Regions from separate parts of the Homo sapiens genome. Here all the other regions are linked to region 4. Evidence: promoter capture Hi-C in 16 types of primary human blood cells and fetal thymus (Javierre and others, 2016). All regions are on one chromosome and are shown on one strand. Each heading gives the region's core, a stretch centred on a gene start or on the middle of the fragment in contact. The rest is flanking DNA. Distances are from core to core; before and after follow the strand shown.

Region 1 (2,901 bases), core at 105-2,604, 690 kb before region 4:
ACACATGTTGTAGCATGTATCAATACTTCATTCCTTTTACGTCCAAGTAGCATTGCATTGTACAGATATGCCACATTTTGTTTATTTATTCAACAGTTGATAGACATTTGGGTTGTTTCCACTTTTGGGGTACTATAAACAATGCTGCTATGAATTCTTGTCTTCATTTTATCTTTCTTTCTCCTAAATCATTAATCTCTGCCTTTCCATGGATCTTTCAAAATATGAATATGCTCTAATATATTTCAGGTTAATAATAAACTGACCCTCTTGACACCACATGTCACTTTAGCTAAAACTCCATTTTACAAATCTATGTCAAAGTCTTTTTTTTTTGGCAGGATCTTGCTCTGTTGCCTAGGCTGGAGTGCACCATTCTGACTCACTGCAGCCTCAAACTCCTGGGGTTGTGCTGCCCTTCCTGCTTCAGCCTCTTGAGTAGCTAGGACTATAGGTGCATACCACCATGCCTACTAACTTTTAAAAATTTTTGTAGAGACAGGGTATCTCTCAGGGTTGCCCAGGCTGATCTTGAACTCCTGGCCTCAAGCCATCCTCCTGTCTTGGTCTCCCAAAGTGCTGGGATTACAGGCGTGAGCTACTGTGCCAAGCCCAAGAAATTTTTATTAGTGATGGATTGGAGTGGGAGAAAGAGTGAATGGAAGGTGAGGAAACCAAGATAACACGAGCAGATGACTCAAGAATTATGACTTTGGGCGGGCGTGGTGGCTCGTGCCTGTAATCCAAGTACTTTGGGAGGCCGAGAGGAAATGACTGCTTGAGCCCAGGAGTTTGAGACCAGCTTGGGCAACATAGGCTGTTGTTTTTCTCTACAAAAAATAAAAAAATTAGCCAATTAGCCGGGTGTGGTGGCATGCGCCTGTAGCCCCAGCTACTTAGGAGGCAGAGGCAAGGGGATTGCTTGAGCCTGCAAGTTCAGGGTTACAGTGAACCATGACTGGGTCAGTGTACTCCAGCCTGGGAGACAGAGAGAGACCCTGTCTCTAAAAACAAAACAAAACAAAACAAAGAAACCCGAAACTATTATTATCAAGCCTATTAATTATTTCCACATGCCAGGTCCAGTGAATATTCCCTGTTCTCATCTTATCTGACTTTTCAACAGCTTCAGAAATAGTTGGCTACTATTTCTTCTTGAAAAATTCTCTCATCTAGGCTGTCCTAACATAACAGTCTTCTTGTTTCTATAACATTCCCGTGGCTGTTACTTCTTAGAAACTTCTTTTTTTAGATCTTTCTCATCTACTCGACCTTTAAATTTTGTTTCTTTGGGTTTAGTCTTGGGTCTTTCTCTGTCTAAATTCTCTCATTAAATAACCTCATCTTTTTTTTTTTAATATAGACTTTATTTTTTAGAGCAGTTTTAGCTTCATAGAAAAGTTGAGGAAAGTACAGAGATTTTCCACATACCCTTTGTCCTCACACATGACTAGCCTTCCTCATTATCAGTATCCCCCACCAGAGTGGACATTTATTACAATTGATGAACCTACATTGACACATAATTTTCACCAAATCCCATCCATTTTCATGGTTTAAAATGCCATGTATATGCAAATTATTCACACATTTATATCTTTAGTGCAGATCCTTCCTTTGAGTTTCAAATTTGTATACCCAGTTGTGTACTTGATCCTCCTCCTCAGCATATCTTCTGGACATATAAAACTTAACATGTCCAAAATGACACTTACGGTACTCCCCAAGTCTCTTGTCTTACTCTGCCCATCTTCTTCATCATCTCAGTGAATGGCACCATTAGCTTCTTGATTGCTCAACCAAAAACCTAGGATTTATTCTATTTCTTCTCTGTCTCCTCCTTTTCTTTTCTCATTTCTAACTTTGTATAATGGAGAATTTTGAATATACACAAAAGTTGGCAGAACAGTATAAGATACCCCCATGTATACATCATTCATCCCAACAACTATCAACCCACAGCCAATCCTTCCCCATCCACATCCTTTTCTACTTTCTGCTTCCTTCTCCTGTGTGTCATTTTGAAGCAAATCCCAAACATCATGTCATTTCATCTCCATCTGTATCTCTCTATAACATATATATGACTTTCTTTTCTTTTCTTTTTTTTTGAGGCAGAGTCCCGCTCTTTTGCTAGGCTGGAGTGCAGTGGGGCGATCTCGGCTCACTGCAACCTCCGCCTCCTGGGTTCAAGCAATTCTCCTGCCTCAGCCTCCTGAGTAGCTGGGACTACAGGCACGCACCACCACACCCAGCTAATTTTTGTATTTTTAGTAGAGACAGGGTTTCACCATGTTGACCAGGATGGTCTCGATCTCTTGACCTCGTGATCTGCCTGCCTTGGCCTCCAAAAGTGCTGGGATTACAGGTGTGAGCCACCGCGCCCGGCCAATATATATATAACTTTCAAGTTACTCACAAGTCCTGTCAGCTCTATTTCCCAGTTCATTAATTTCATGCATTTCTTTCATCTCCACTGGCATAACCCTAGACCAGATCATGACCCTCCGCTGCCTGGCCCACTGCAAGGGCCTCATTAACTGTCTCTCCACTTTCACCCACTGCTTAAAACCTTTTAGTGGATTCCCATTATCTTTGGTACAAAATCTGAACTCCTTACTGTAGCCCATAAGGCCCTGTGTGATCTGGCCCCTGTCCACCTCTCATGCTACCCTCCCTTAACCCTGTGTTTTAGCTATACAATCTTCTTTCAGTTCCTCATACTCTCACTCCTTTTAGCTTCAGTGCTGTTGAGCTTGTCTTCCTCTTCCTGATATGCTTGCTTTCTTTTCAGCAGTCCCTCCTCCCTCCTGCCTAGTTAATTTTTTAACTCATTGTTTGGTTCTTGTATCAAGCATCCCTTCCCTTATTCATTTTGGTCAACAGCCCTTAGGCCAGTTT
Region 2 (2,700 bases), core at 198-2,697, 660 kb before region 4:
AGAGAAGAATGGGGAAGGTATAGATACTTAATATTCTTATGATGCAGAAAGGATCCAATGAAGACACAAACTCACTTTTCCTCAGTTTACCAAGGACTGGGTGGGACATATTTGGACTGGAAGTACACTATGAATACCAGGGAGCAAAAAGCCCATGTCTGTCCTTGGGAGTAGGGGACATCAAAGAAGAGAATAGATTTCTTTCTTTTAGTGGAAAGTCTAGGAGTAGAGGATAAGGAGCTGGCTAAGGAAGGCTGACCAGAAGGCTGGGTTGTAGATAGCACTATGACAGGGTGGTTTGGAGCTTGCCTCTGGTGGTTGGCAAGTCCAAGATCAAATCCTGATCATCACTTACCATCTGAAATAGTGGGAGTTTTCTTTACATCTTTGTGCCTTAAATTCTGCATCTGTAAAGTCATGACAATAATCGTTTCTATGTATCACAGGGTTGCTGTGAGGATTAAACACAGCCTTCCTCAGCCATTCTATACCACATCATCACTTGACATATAAATTAACTTGTTTGTTTGTGGCTTCTCTCCTTTCATTAAAATGAGATGTACCATAAAGGGGGAAGGGAAGAAACTGCCTGTCTTGTTTACCAGTGTATCCCTAGTGCCTGGCACATAGTAGGTATTCAGGAAATATTTGCTGAATCGATAAGTAAATGAATATATGAAAGCTGCTTAGCACAGTGCATGTAGGTAATAGTGTTCACTAATCTATTTCGATTATACTATAATTGCTACTACTATCATTTGCCTTCTTATGAACTTTGATGATGACTTTCAGAGCAGTTTTTAGATGTCTTAAAAGTTTGAGACTTTGTTAAAAAAATCCCCCTAAAGTTGCTGGAAAGTTTAAAATGTGTTAATGCTGAAGAGAGGAAGGGGAGAAGTGTGTGTGGGATTTGGGGAAGAGAGTTTTTGGAAAAGAGGAAATCCTGGTGTGAGCTATGAGGGGGATAACTCAGAAAGGATCAGATGGGCCATAGGGGCCATGAAAGAGGAGGAAAGAAGCAGGTGAACAATTCTGGGTTAGAGAAAACCTGACTCTGGTAGCTCAAGGAGTTGAGAGGAATCTTGGAAAACCAGGCTTAGGCAATGATCAGGTACCAAAAGAAGCTGAGAGGCCAGAACCACAGGCCAGGTCATAGCACAGGGGTGGTTGGCTAGGATGCTGCAGGCACTGCTGGCACTGTTGCCCGTGACTCCTCTGGCACCGTGCAGGTGCTGAGGCTGCTGCTGGTGGGCCTGGATGCCACTGTGGTCATCACCAAAATGAATTGTAAACTTTACTTCTTTGAATCACTTGCACCTGATTCAAAGTCTTAGGCAGTTGCATCTGCTAGGACTAGCTAAGATCACAGGGCTGTGTCTCGGCTGTCAGAGTTTAGAGAATCCACAAATTTGGGCCTAATGGCTTCTGTAGAAGTGGATAGAGCTTTGTCCCCCACAAGCTCTATCCACTTAGAGCTTGGGGGGAAGACCCTGTTAAGTTCATGGATGGCCTCCTTTCCTGCCATTATGACCCTTCTATTTGTAGGCCTATTAAGAATGAACTGGGGCCAAGCTCAGTGGTCCACACCTGTAATCCTAGCAATTTTGGAAGGCCAAGGTGGGAGGATCACTTGAGGCTAGGAGTGCAAGACCAGCCTGAGTAACATAGCGAGCCCTCATCTTTACAAAAGTAAAAATAAAAAATTAGTTGGAGGTCATGGCATGTGCCTGTGGTCCTAGCTATTTGGGTGGCTGAGGCGGGAGGATCACTTGAGCCTAGGAGTTCGAAGCTGCAATGAGCCTTGATTTTACCACTGCACTCCAGCCTGGGCGACAGAGCAAGCTCCTGCTCCCACATCCCCATACCCCCCAAAAAGATTGATTTGCTGGAGAATGAGGTATATGCAACCTCCTTTTGTTTTCAGGCTGTGCTTGGGCCCCATCTGATTTTACCAATTTCACTTGTCTATTAAGTGCTATTGGGGATACTTAACTTTAGGGTGAGTGGGTCAAATTACACCCAATTCATGGTGTGCAATACTGTTCCATAGTCACCTGGTGTCCAGTGGTCAGCTGTTCAGTGTATACTGTTGCCTACAAGCAGCCCAAGAGCAGTTTCACAAAAGGATCTTGATTGTTTGCCCCAAAGGGCAAGGTTTGGCTCCCAAATCTGTGATTCACCTCTTGGATTTACCGCAGGCTCCAGTGCCACTGACACTGAGCCTCTTACAGTCTGCTGGGCAGTTGGGAGGCCCAGTGGCGGAACTGCAGCGTGGGCCACTGGGAGAGCATTTGCTTCCTCTGGCTTTTAGGACATCCGATAAGTGGGTTGAAGCAGCCAACCCAAAAGGACTATATGTCGCTTCCCAAATCCAGATAACTACAAGAGGTCTTTTCTTACTGTAGGGAGCAAAAGGTGAGGCAACTTGTCCGTAACATTTGAGGAGATACCCTGATATCCCCAGAAAACCTTCACAGAGAGGCCAGGCCCCTAAATTTATCTCCTAGTTATAAATGTACATCAAGGGTACCTGCCATTTTCCTCTCTCCAGATGCTGTCAGTGTAGTTTCATCAATAGAATGGACCAGTGTGGTGCTCTACGGGGTGGTGACCTGATGAAGGTGCCTGTGGATTTGGTGGCGCAGAGCGAGAAAGCCGATGTAACCCTGAGGCAGGATAAGAAGGGTGACCTTGTGCCCT
Region 3 (2,840 bases), core at 12-2,511, 730 kb before region 4:
ACACACCACAGAGAAACGGAGGCTTGTGTTTTATTCAAGGCTTGTCAGCCTCCCTCCTTCCCCCTGCGGGTGAGGTAGGAGGGATAGGGTTGGGGGAGGGAACAGGGGCTAGGAAGGGGCAGACTGCAGCTGCCCTTTGTAGACATATTCCAGTGCAGTGGCAATGGTGCGCATGTCCAGCTCGATGCTCCGAGCCCAGTTCTCCACATCCCCAATTTCCTGGGAAGGGGGAGAGGAGGTGGGAGCCCAGGAATCAGAATGGGTAGAGTATGGCTTCCAGTCTGGGGAATACGTTTTATTCATCTCCTGGAAAAGGCTTTACTTGGACCCACCAACTGCTTTTCTTTCTTTCTCTACCTTTTCTGACACTGGGGCTATAGATGGGGTTTCTGGGACCACCCTACTTCCTCCTTAACCTAAACCTGAGGTAACCTGACTGGAGGCAGCCAATGGGGGCCCAGGATTGGGGTGGTGAGGTAGGGAGTATGGCCCACCTTGAGTGCCTGGTTGAAGTTCTCCACCATTCCGATCCACTGGCCTGTCTGCTTGGCAAATTGGGCAGCCTGGACCTGTAGGGTCTTCACCTCATGGTCCAGCTTTCTCTGGTTCATGTAGGCCTGGGCCACACTGGGGGGTTGGAGGAGGGAGGAGATCAGCTCCAGCTAGTTGGGGGTGGTCTCCGGGACTAATATTCCATTGCAGCAGTGGGAGTTCAGCCAAGAATCAGGGCTCATAATTTTGGCCATTTTTGGATGTGATGCAAATGACTACCAGTACATGCAAATAAACCCAGCTCCTTCCTTTCACTCCCAGGATTCCCAGGAGAGCCAAGCTCGGAGCTGACTAGAAACATACCAGCTCCAAACCCCAAAAAGGAGTTCCTGCAGCTGAGTGGGGGAAGGGAGGGAAAACCTGGGGTGATATCCCTGAGGAAAAAGCTGGGAGGGAAAAAGGGGCATGGAAAAACTGGGAAAATCCAGCAGGAGGAACACATCTGGCAGTGATTGGAAGCCTAGGGATCTATGCAAGAAGTTGGAGAGGGAAATTGGGCCCCTCCCTGAAGCCGGGTTAGGATGGGAGTACAAACCCCCTCCCCAGGAACCCTGGGTCAAAAGAGGGTATCCCAGGGGTTTCTTCTCGGCTCTCAGTTGCTCTCCCAAGCCTTCGCTTTTGCCCACACAGATCAAGGAACACACACAAACACACACACACACACACACACACATGCTCTCCCTCCCTTCTGCCTTAGGCACTAGTTTTTCTTTTCAATCAAGGTATGGGCTGTGGTTACCATTACTACCATGGGGTTGGTGTCCCCAACCTTCTGCCAGTGTTTTTTGCCCTCCCCAACCCCTGCAATAATTGTTCTCCTTTATTGGCTGTTGAATTTTTCACTTCCCACCCCAGAGCTCTACTCAGCCAGGAGATTCCACATCCGGTGCCCCCACCCACTGGAATGTGTGGGGGCTGGAGCGGGGAAGGGGTTGGTGGGGGCTGAGGGAGTGGGCAGGACACCTGACAGGGGCCAAGATAGACTGAGCCTTTGTTTTCCTTTCCGGGGAATGAGAGGAGGCGTGGGCAGCAACACAAAACCCTTTCTAATCTGGCTTTGGCTTAGCTGCCCTCTAAGCTGAAAGTGGGGTGGCATCTAGCAAAGGAAAAGAAGAGGGAAAGGCCTGGGCCAATCTCACAAATGATGGGCACAGCAGAGCCCAGGAGGTGCCAATGTGGGAGGGAGGAAATGGGAGGGCAGACCCTGTTCCTTCTTTTTGGGAGACAGCTGGGTCACTGTCAAGGGTCGGGTAGGAACTGAAACAGACTCCCCTGAGAATTCCTGAACTTCTGGTTTTCCCCATTGACCACCTGCTTCTATATTCACACTGAGTAAAGAGAGCTGCCTGGAGAGAAGGGAGATCAGAGGCCCCAGCCACAACTTTCTTTCTCTCAACCTTCCCCCAAGATGAGTAACAAAGATGACCCCAGCCCCTGCATGGCTCACTTGGATGACTCAGTCTCTGGATTCACACCGAGCTGTTCTACTTGACCTGGGGTGGAAGGTACCATACTGCCTTTCTTCCAATAGGCAGACTAGCAAATCATCATCTCTGCACGCTTCTGGGTCACTTAGGGTCAAGAGACAATGTTCTTTGCTTTTTCCCAAGTCTTTGGCTGTTACTTGCATTCTCATTTAGGGCTGGGGCAGGGTGTGGTCCCTAGAGACCCAATAGGAAGGTAAGAGACAGCCTGGCTCTGCCATAGCTCCCGGAACAGGTTCTACTCTCACCACCACCAGCTCTGCCATCTCTTTCCTGCCAGCTGCTCCCCAGGCTTGCCAGAGGGTGGGAGGCAGAGGAGAGGGTGGTAAGCTGTAATGAAGGAGGGTGCTCTCCCTCCTGCTGAAGTGACAGCTGGACTTGGAAGGGTGAAGGGAGGTGGGCAGATGGCATCAAGTTGTAAATGCCAGGGAAGTTAACGTGGGGAAGGGGAAATCTGGCTGCTTCTCTAACCACGGCAGCTGTTCCTCCCTTGCCCAGTGCTAGGACTCAGAGTTGACTCAAGTTGCTCTACAAAGAGCTGGGAGGGGCGGGGTAGGATAGGGGAATTAGTGGAACATCCCACCCCTTCAACAGCTATTTGAGGGCCAGACTGGCCAGTGCCTAAACTTGGGCGGGGTGGGGAAGGAGGAAACTGATGTTGATAAGAGGTCCATACCCCACATTGAGGTGATCCACCAAAGCTTCTGTCAGGCAGGTCGCTGCAGTGATAGCCTCTCGCCTCCTCTTTTCTGGGGAGAGGGGGAAAAGGAATTGGAGGGGAGACTTGGTTTTTTGAGGGGTAGT
Region 4 (2,787 bases), core at 227-2,726:
TTGAAAATTAAATCTCTCTCACATATTTCCAAACTCCCTACCGAAGTTATATTCTCCATTTCCCAAACATATTGGAAAACAACTGTTAAGGAAAACATTGAATTCTAGAAACTTAGGATTTAAAAGAGTTGTTAAGTTTCCATTAGTTCAGCTTTTATAGTTAATTTGTACGGAAAAGAATAGTAAATAAAGAGAATTAGGGCGTGTTGGATTTAGCATTTTACTTGTTGACTGTGAAGCTAATTCTCAGAGAAGCACATATTTAGCATCTACTATGTCCTGAGAAAATATGTTAGATATTTTCATGCCTACGTAAAAGGAATAGCGTGGGAGAAGGGTTGAGTGAGAAACAGAGAGAATTGTTATTTTCCTCACATTATACTTGAAGAAAATAATGTTTTGAGAACTTAATTTGCCAAGCAAGAATTTTATTTAGGATTATTTCTACCATATTATAGCTATACTATGGATACTCAATGGAGTTGTCCCATTGATGATTGGAAATGGAATTTAGAAACATGGTAAAAAAAAAATCTAACTATACCTATAGCCAAAAAATCAGAAAGAAGGTAATGAACATGTGAAAATCAGTCACAATTAACACATTAGAGGAGTGCCTTGTAGAATAAATATTGTGATATACATTCATAAATAAATGATTTAAAGAAGGAAACAGTAGAATCAGGAGAGAGACAGAAAGAAGATATCCAAAATGCAGCAGCATCCTACGGAGAAGAGTGTTCAGAGATACTGGAGAAGCGAGGAGGGATAGTTAGCAGTGCTGGATGCTCCCGGTGGGTGAAAGTGATTGAGGCCTGGGAGAAACCTTTTAGAGTTCAACAAGCCTTTTCCAAACTGAAAACCAATAAACTGAAGACATCTTCAGGGTGTAACCGATTTTAAAAGTTCAGCTTTGAAAACGTTGGGGAAAGCAGTCATTTACTACAAAAACAAAAACTTTGAAGTGGTTTGAACATAAAACAAAGTTAAGAAACTAACAGAAAAAAAAAGTAGTCAGTATTCAAAAACAAGCTTCGGGGGAATTTACCAGAGTATGAAAGTTATCAACACAGAGCGACTGGCTCAGAGCCCTCTCAAGTGTGTGATACGACTGGAAACTTCTTCTCTGAGATAAACGCCAGATCATTTATGAGAGAGAGCTTTCCCATTTTCAGACAGCTCTCCTGAGGACAGAAGGATTTATCTGCAGCAGTGGAATTCTAGTTATATGGTAGGAAGACTCCTGCACACACCTCTTTAAATGGACTGTACCTTTGCCTTAATAGGAAAAGATCTCCTGTTTTTCTGGAAAGACAGAGGCAGCTCTGGGGCAGGAAGGTCTTCCTAGTTGTGAGCACCGTGTCTACGGATGGTTTGTCCTTCGCTCAGTCTCCTGAGCCGGAGCAAAGGATGTGGCTGGGCCAGGAGGCGGGGACTGCATCTACATGTGTGGATGTGTGTGTGTGTGGTGTGTTCTCATTTCCGCTTCCCCTTTTGAGCAGGCAACAGCAGTTGAATGAGTTCAGGGAGAAAGGCATAATCTACAACATGATACTTTCTCACTTGCTTCACCTCTGTGCCCACACCTGTGAAGGCCTCGGCCCAGCTTCGACAACTGCTTTGCCTCAAACTCAGCTTTCTACCAGCAGACAGGTAAGCACAGCCTTTATCTCAGTTTCAAGGCTGTACTGATTTAGGGTGATGCTAGGAGAAAGAAGGAAACATGTCAGAGAAAAATCAGGCTGTCAAGTCAAGGGAAAATCAAGAGAAAATCTCCCACCACTCTTACTTCAACCTTAAAAGCATCCATCATTATGCCTAGGAGAACGATGCTGGGTGCCCTTTTGCTTTCGTTTGTTTGTTTTCTCTTTATTATCAGAGAGGTAATCTTTCTAGATTCTCAAAACTTGGGTCTCTTTGATGACTTGAATAACATTTTAGGAATTTTTTTTCACCTTTCTCACCTGCAAAGTTCTTCTCTGTGTCTTGCTGAACTCATTGTTGCTGCAATTTCCATCTGATTATAACATCGAAAAGTTCTCAAGGAAGAAGTTTCCCGGTTTCATTTCAGGCCCTACTCTAGTGTCCATAGCTCCAACCATTGAGAGTACCTGGCTGAAATCAACTTTGCTTTCTGTGGGTATGACCTCTTTCTTCAGAAGCTGTAGAAGAAACTTGTTGAGATAAACTGCAGCAAGATATATTGAGGTCAGCTACGAGGGAGGATGTACACACTTGAGTGAGGTAAGGTCAAATTCACCGGGAGGCTCAAGATAGATGGATAGCCACCATCAGGACCAGATTTCAGGGTTCACATCTCAAAGATAGATAGATGGATGTGTTGCCTTCTCAGTGACCTACATAATATTGGGGGCTTCATGCTCCTCCAACACCCCTTGCCCCAGTGGTAGCAGGCAGAGCATATCACCACCTACATGAGTTTTGGGGTAGATGGAGGAGTGGAAAGATCCTCCACCCTGGGGTTTTCCCATGCCCCTTCTGTGCCACTAAGCTCACCAGTGGGTGGAAGAAAAAGGGTGGGTCCCCAGGGCAGGGCAAGGACAAGAAAGGAGAGTTCCACAGAAGTGATTTGACAAGACTGTGAGCATTTACAGGAGATATCCAGGGAAGTACTAGTGACTCTGTATACCACAAATGGTCCTGAGTAGAGAGGTAAGGAGACTTTCTAGATGGTGCAGGGCAGTACCTAGGATGGGAGGTTGGAGGTAGGAACCTTCAACTTGTGTGTCCAAGTATCAGACTCAATAGTTGTTCAGCTGAGTGATT
Region 5 (2,700 bases), core at 126-2,625, 700 kb after region 4:
GTCCGTGAGCGTTCCCCATTGCTCAAAATGGCTCCTCAGGCTCTCATCAGTTGTTTCAAAGCTCAACCCTCCAATGAAGAGCTTCCTCAGCTGTTCGGGCTCTTTAGGAGACTAGAGTGGGGGGAGGGGGAAGTGTTAAATGGGCTACAACACGAAACAATTTCCATCGAGGAAAAGAAAAACTAGACACCAACTGTGTACCTAGCACTTATTGTTCGTTCAGGTCGCAACAAGACACGTGCTTCTGCCTATCAAGGGAGGCCGTATGCTGGAGTTGGGAGTGCTAGGAAATCGCAAGCGCATGCGTCCCTAGTCGCCTTCCGACGCACGCGCAACAAAGGCTTGGGCGGTAGGGGTGCATCTCCACAATGGGACTAATCGCTCTTTAGAAAACTCGCTCACCAAGGCAAGGTTTAAAAAAAGACAAAGATCCTGTGTGCCTAAGAATTTTGCTACGAGTAACGAGTCCCGCATGATAACTCATGGTTGGCGGAGAGCGGCCTCATGGCGATCAAGAGGACAAAATGGCGACTTGAACTTTGGGAGGGGTAGGCCGTGGCAGCGACCGAAGGAACTGTAGAATGGGCTGGTGCAAGGAACGAAACCCAGCAGCATCTTACCGATTCAGGAAAGGGAGAGGAAAAAATTCAAGTGGGAAAGCGCGCCTAACTCACCTCTGACTTAGACATGACGGCAGGGTGAAGAGAGACTTTAACGATGCTTCTTCGGCGGCGTCCACGGGCAGAAAGGAGCAAGCTGACGAACGTATCTGCCAGCCTACCTTCGCCCTCTCTTTTTTACCCCGCCTCCTCGCTTTCGGCATTGGTAGACTCCGCCCTGGAACAGCTCTGATTGGATACTTGAAATCGCTTCCCCCTGCTATTGGCCTGTGGTGCCACATTGCTGTGTAACGTCATTCCTTCGGTCGTTCTACGCCGTCTCCACCCCTTGGAGTCCATTGGTTCCCGAGTAATGTTATTGTTAACCAGTCTGATTGGCCAACCGACCAATCATTCACATTTGAATCTACCTTGGGTGTTTAACATCTTTTTAATCTTCCACGCGCAAATATTACAGTCAAGTCGCTTGGCAAAGCATGATTAACACTATGTATTAGACAAGCAGCCAGGAGGTAACAATTTTTTTGCAATGAACTCTTGTTGACCGCACGTGTAGTAAAATGGCGAGTTTTGCGCAGGCGCATTAAGAAGTTCCACCTGCCTCTGAGAACACGTGAAATGGCGGGCAGGAGTAGGCAGTGAACCTACGGCGCCTGCGTGTTGGCGGGAGTTTGTCCTAGCTTTGCGCATGCGTAGTGGGCGGAGAAAAAAGGTCCGGTCCCAGGATTGGTTGCGCAGGCGCAGGGAAGGATCCGTTTTGGCGGGCGGTTGGCGTTGCGCAGAAGGCGGCGGCGGTGGTGGCTTGTGGTGCGGCCTCACCATACAGGAACAGGGCAGACGTTAGCGTGAGTGATCACTCTCAATCCCGGGTAAGTGGCAGACAGTCTTATCTACCCATAGTAGGTCTTGAACTGACTCCATTTGGGCCCGTTATTGTGTGAAATGAATGGACGGCGGGGTGGGGGGATAGTGAAGGGGCAGCGGTGGGTCGGGCCAACCAATAGAAGAACAGGGGGCGGGATGTTTTAATCCCCGTAGGTTCTTTGGAGCTGTGCAGCCGAAGACTTTGACTGGCTTGTGTATAGGCCAATTGGGTCTGCCTTGAGCTGCCGACTGATCGGCCCTTGGGCCATCGGAATGTGGGAGACGGGTTTTCCCCTTCTGAGCAGCGTCTCACTGAGCCAGTGAGCAGGAAGCGCGCGGTAGGTTGGGCTTCTCCAGGAGGCAGCGGTTTGACTCCAATGGGGAATGCGGGATCGGGCGGTTAAACGGATGGAACGAATCTGGAACCAGTAGACGGACAGCCTAAGGAAAGCGCTGGGACCAGTCGTCCAATCGGCTCTCCAAAAGAGGGAGGTCTTCGATTTGGGGTTGTGAGGAAGGGGAGTCGGTGCCTGTAATGGCGTGTGAGGGTGGATGTTTTATCCACGATGACTTCTCTAACGAAGCCTTTAGGCCTCAGTCCCATACACCTCCTTGAAAGCGTAAGTTTGCTCCTGTATTCCTCGACTTGAGCATTTTTCCCCCGCCCCCTCACCACTTGAGGTTTGGGGAACAGGAGTTGTTTTTTTTTGTTTGTTTGTTTTTAAATAATACTTTCAGAAGTCGCTTCTTTAGGAAGACTGTTAAAATGTTAGAACGAATGGGAGAAATCTCTATGTACTGTCATGGAAAGGCGTTCAAGAAATATCTCCTTCCTGATAGTGCATATTTCTACTGACAAATATGTTTGTAGGTCCACAGAAAAGTTTTGGAAAGCTACACACCAAAGTGTCAATCCTAGGGACACAGTAGGATCGAGGCAGATTAGATCTTTAATGTTTAAAACTTTGCAAGGTTAATAATTTGTGATTAAAATTAAATAAAAAATGAAGTCGATTGTTTTGTGTTTCTAGTCATAATCACATACTTACAACCCCTTTTCTGTTTTATGTAATCCATGTGCCCAGTGCTTTTATTTTAGTCTCTTTCTCCCGGGAACTTTCATATATTTCTTTTCTTTACACCATTGAAGATATCCTAAAGTCCCTCTTTTTGCTGTTCCTTTGAGGATATCTGACTTTGGAATAAAAAAGAAACA

The links. Contacts are between HindIII fragments. The CHiCAGO score rates a contact against its expected background, and 5 or more counts as called.
Region 1: a contact is called between a fragment that was not itself captured here and the fragment with the promoter of TESPA1 in region 4, in 1 of 17 cell types (total B cells). The highest score is 5.6, in total B cells.
Region 2: a contact is called between a fragment that was not itself captured here and the fragment with the promoter of TESPA1 in region 4, in 2 of 17 cell types (total B cells and naive B cells). The highest score is 6.6, in total B cells.
Region 3: a contact is called between a fragment that was not itself captured here and the fragment with the promoter of TESPA1 in region 4, in 1 of 17 cell types (erythroblasts). The highest score is 5.0, in erythroblasts.
Region 5: a contact is called between the fragment with the promoter of CBX5 here and the fragment with the promoter of TESPA1 in region 4, in 1 of 17 cell types (fetal thymus). The highest score is 5.7, in fetal thymus.

What each region holds. Positions count from the first base shown.
Region 1 is chr12:55,673,672-55,676,572 of GRCh38, reverse strand. No RefSeq gene overlaps it. Among named protein-coding and RNA genes, the nearest start is that of TMT1B, 6.6 kb to the left of the region's middle. RefSeq lists an enhancer at 2,816-2,901. The HindIII fragment of the contact is 3,457 bases long and covers 1-2,901 here.
Region 2 is chr12:55,642,970-55,645,669 of GRCh38, reverse strand. No RefSeq gene overlaps it. Among named protein-coding and RNA genes, the nearest start is that of OR10P1, 7.4 kb to the right of the region's middle. The HindIII fragment of the contact is 3,323 bases long and covers 1-2,700 here.
Region 3 is chr12:55,716,878-55,719,717 of GRCh38, reverse strand. BLOC1S1 (biogenesis of lysosomal organelles complex 1 subunit 1) reads right to left here. Exons shown (of 4, transcript NM_001487.4): 2 at 2,713-2,785; 3 at 495-627; 4 at 15-219. The coding sequence ends at 109. It overlaps BLOC1S1-RDH5 (BLOC1S1-RDH5 readthrough), which reads right to left. Exons shown (of 6, transcript NR_037658.1): 2 at 2,713-2,785; 3 at 495-627. Among named protein-coding and RNA genes, the nearest start is that of RDH5, 2.1 kb to the left of the region's middle. RefSeq lists enhancers at 1,458-1,617, 1,728-1,777, 1,878-2,037. The HindIII fragment of the contact is 2,957 bases long and covers 1-2,739 here.
Region 4 is chr12:54,983,451-54,986,237 of GRCh38, reverse strand. It overlaps TESPA1 (thymocyte expressed, positive selection associated 1), which reads left to right and starts at 1,476. Exons shown (of 11, transcript NM_001136030.3): 1 at 1,476-1,653. LOC107984515 (a long non-coding RNA gene) reads right to left here and starts at 1,387. Exons shown (of 2, transcript XR_001749161.2): 1 at 1,273-1,387. The HindIII fragment of the contact is 6,023 bases long and covers 1,035-2,787 here.
Region 5 is chr12:54,278,797-54,281,496 of GRCh38, reverse strand. It overlaps CBX5 (chromobox 5), which reads left to right and starts at 1,375. Exons shown (of 5, transcript NM_012117.3): 1 at 1,375-1,489. It overlaps HNRNPA1 (heterogeneous nuclear ribonucleoprotein A1), which reads right to left and starts at 771. Exons shown (of 11, transcript NM_031157.4): 1 at 675-771; 2 at 1-111. The coding sequence starts at 689. SCAT2 (S-phase cancer associated transcript 2) reads right to left here. Exons shown (of 2, transcript NR_157844.1): 2 at 2,434-2,700. RefSeq lists enhancers at 1-250, 993-1,052, 1,063-1,152, 1,443-1,492, 1,011-1,770 and 1 more and a cis regulatory region at 1-1,976. The HindIII fragment of the contact is 6,592 bases long and covers 1-2,700 here.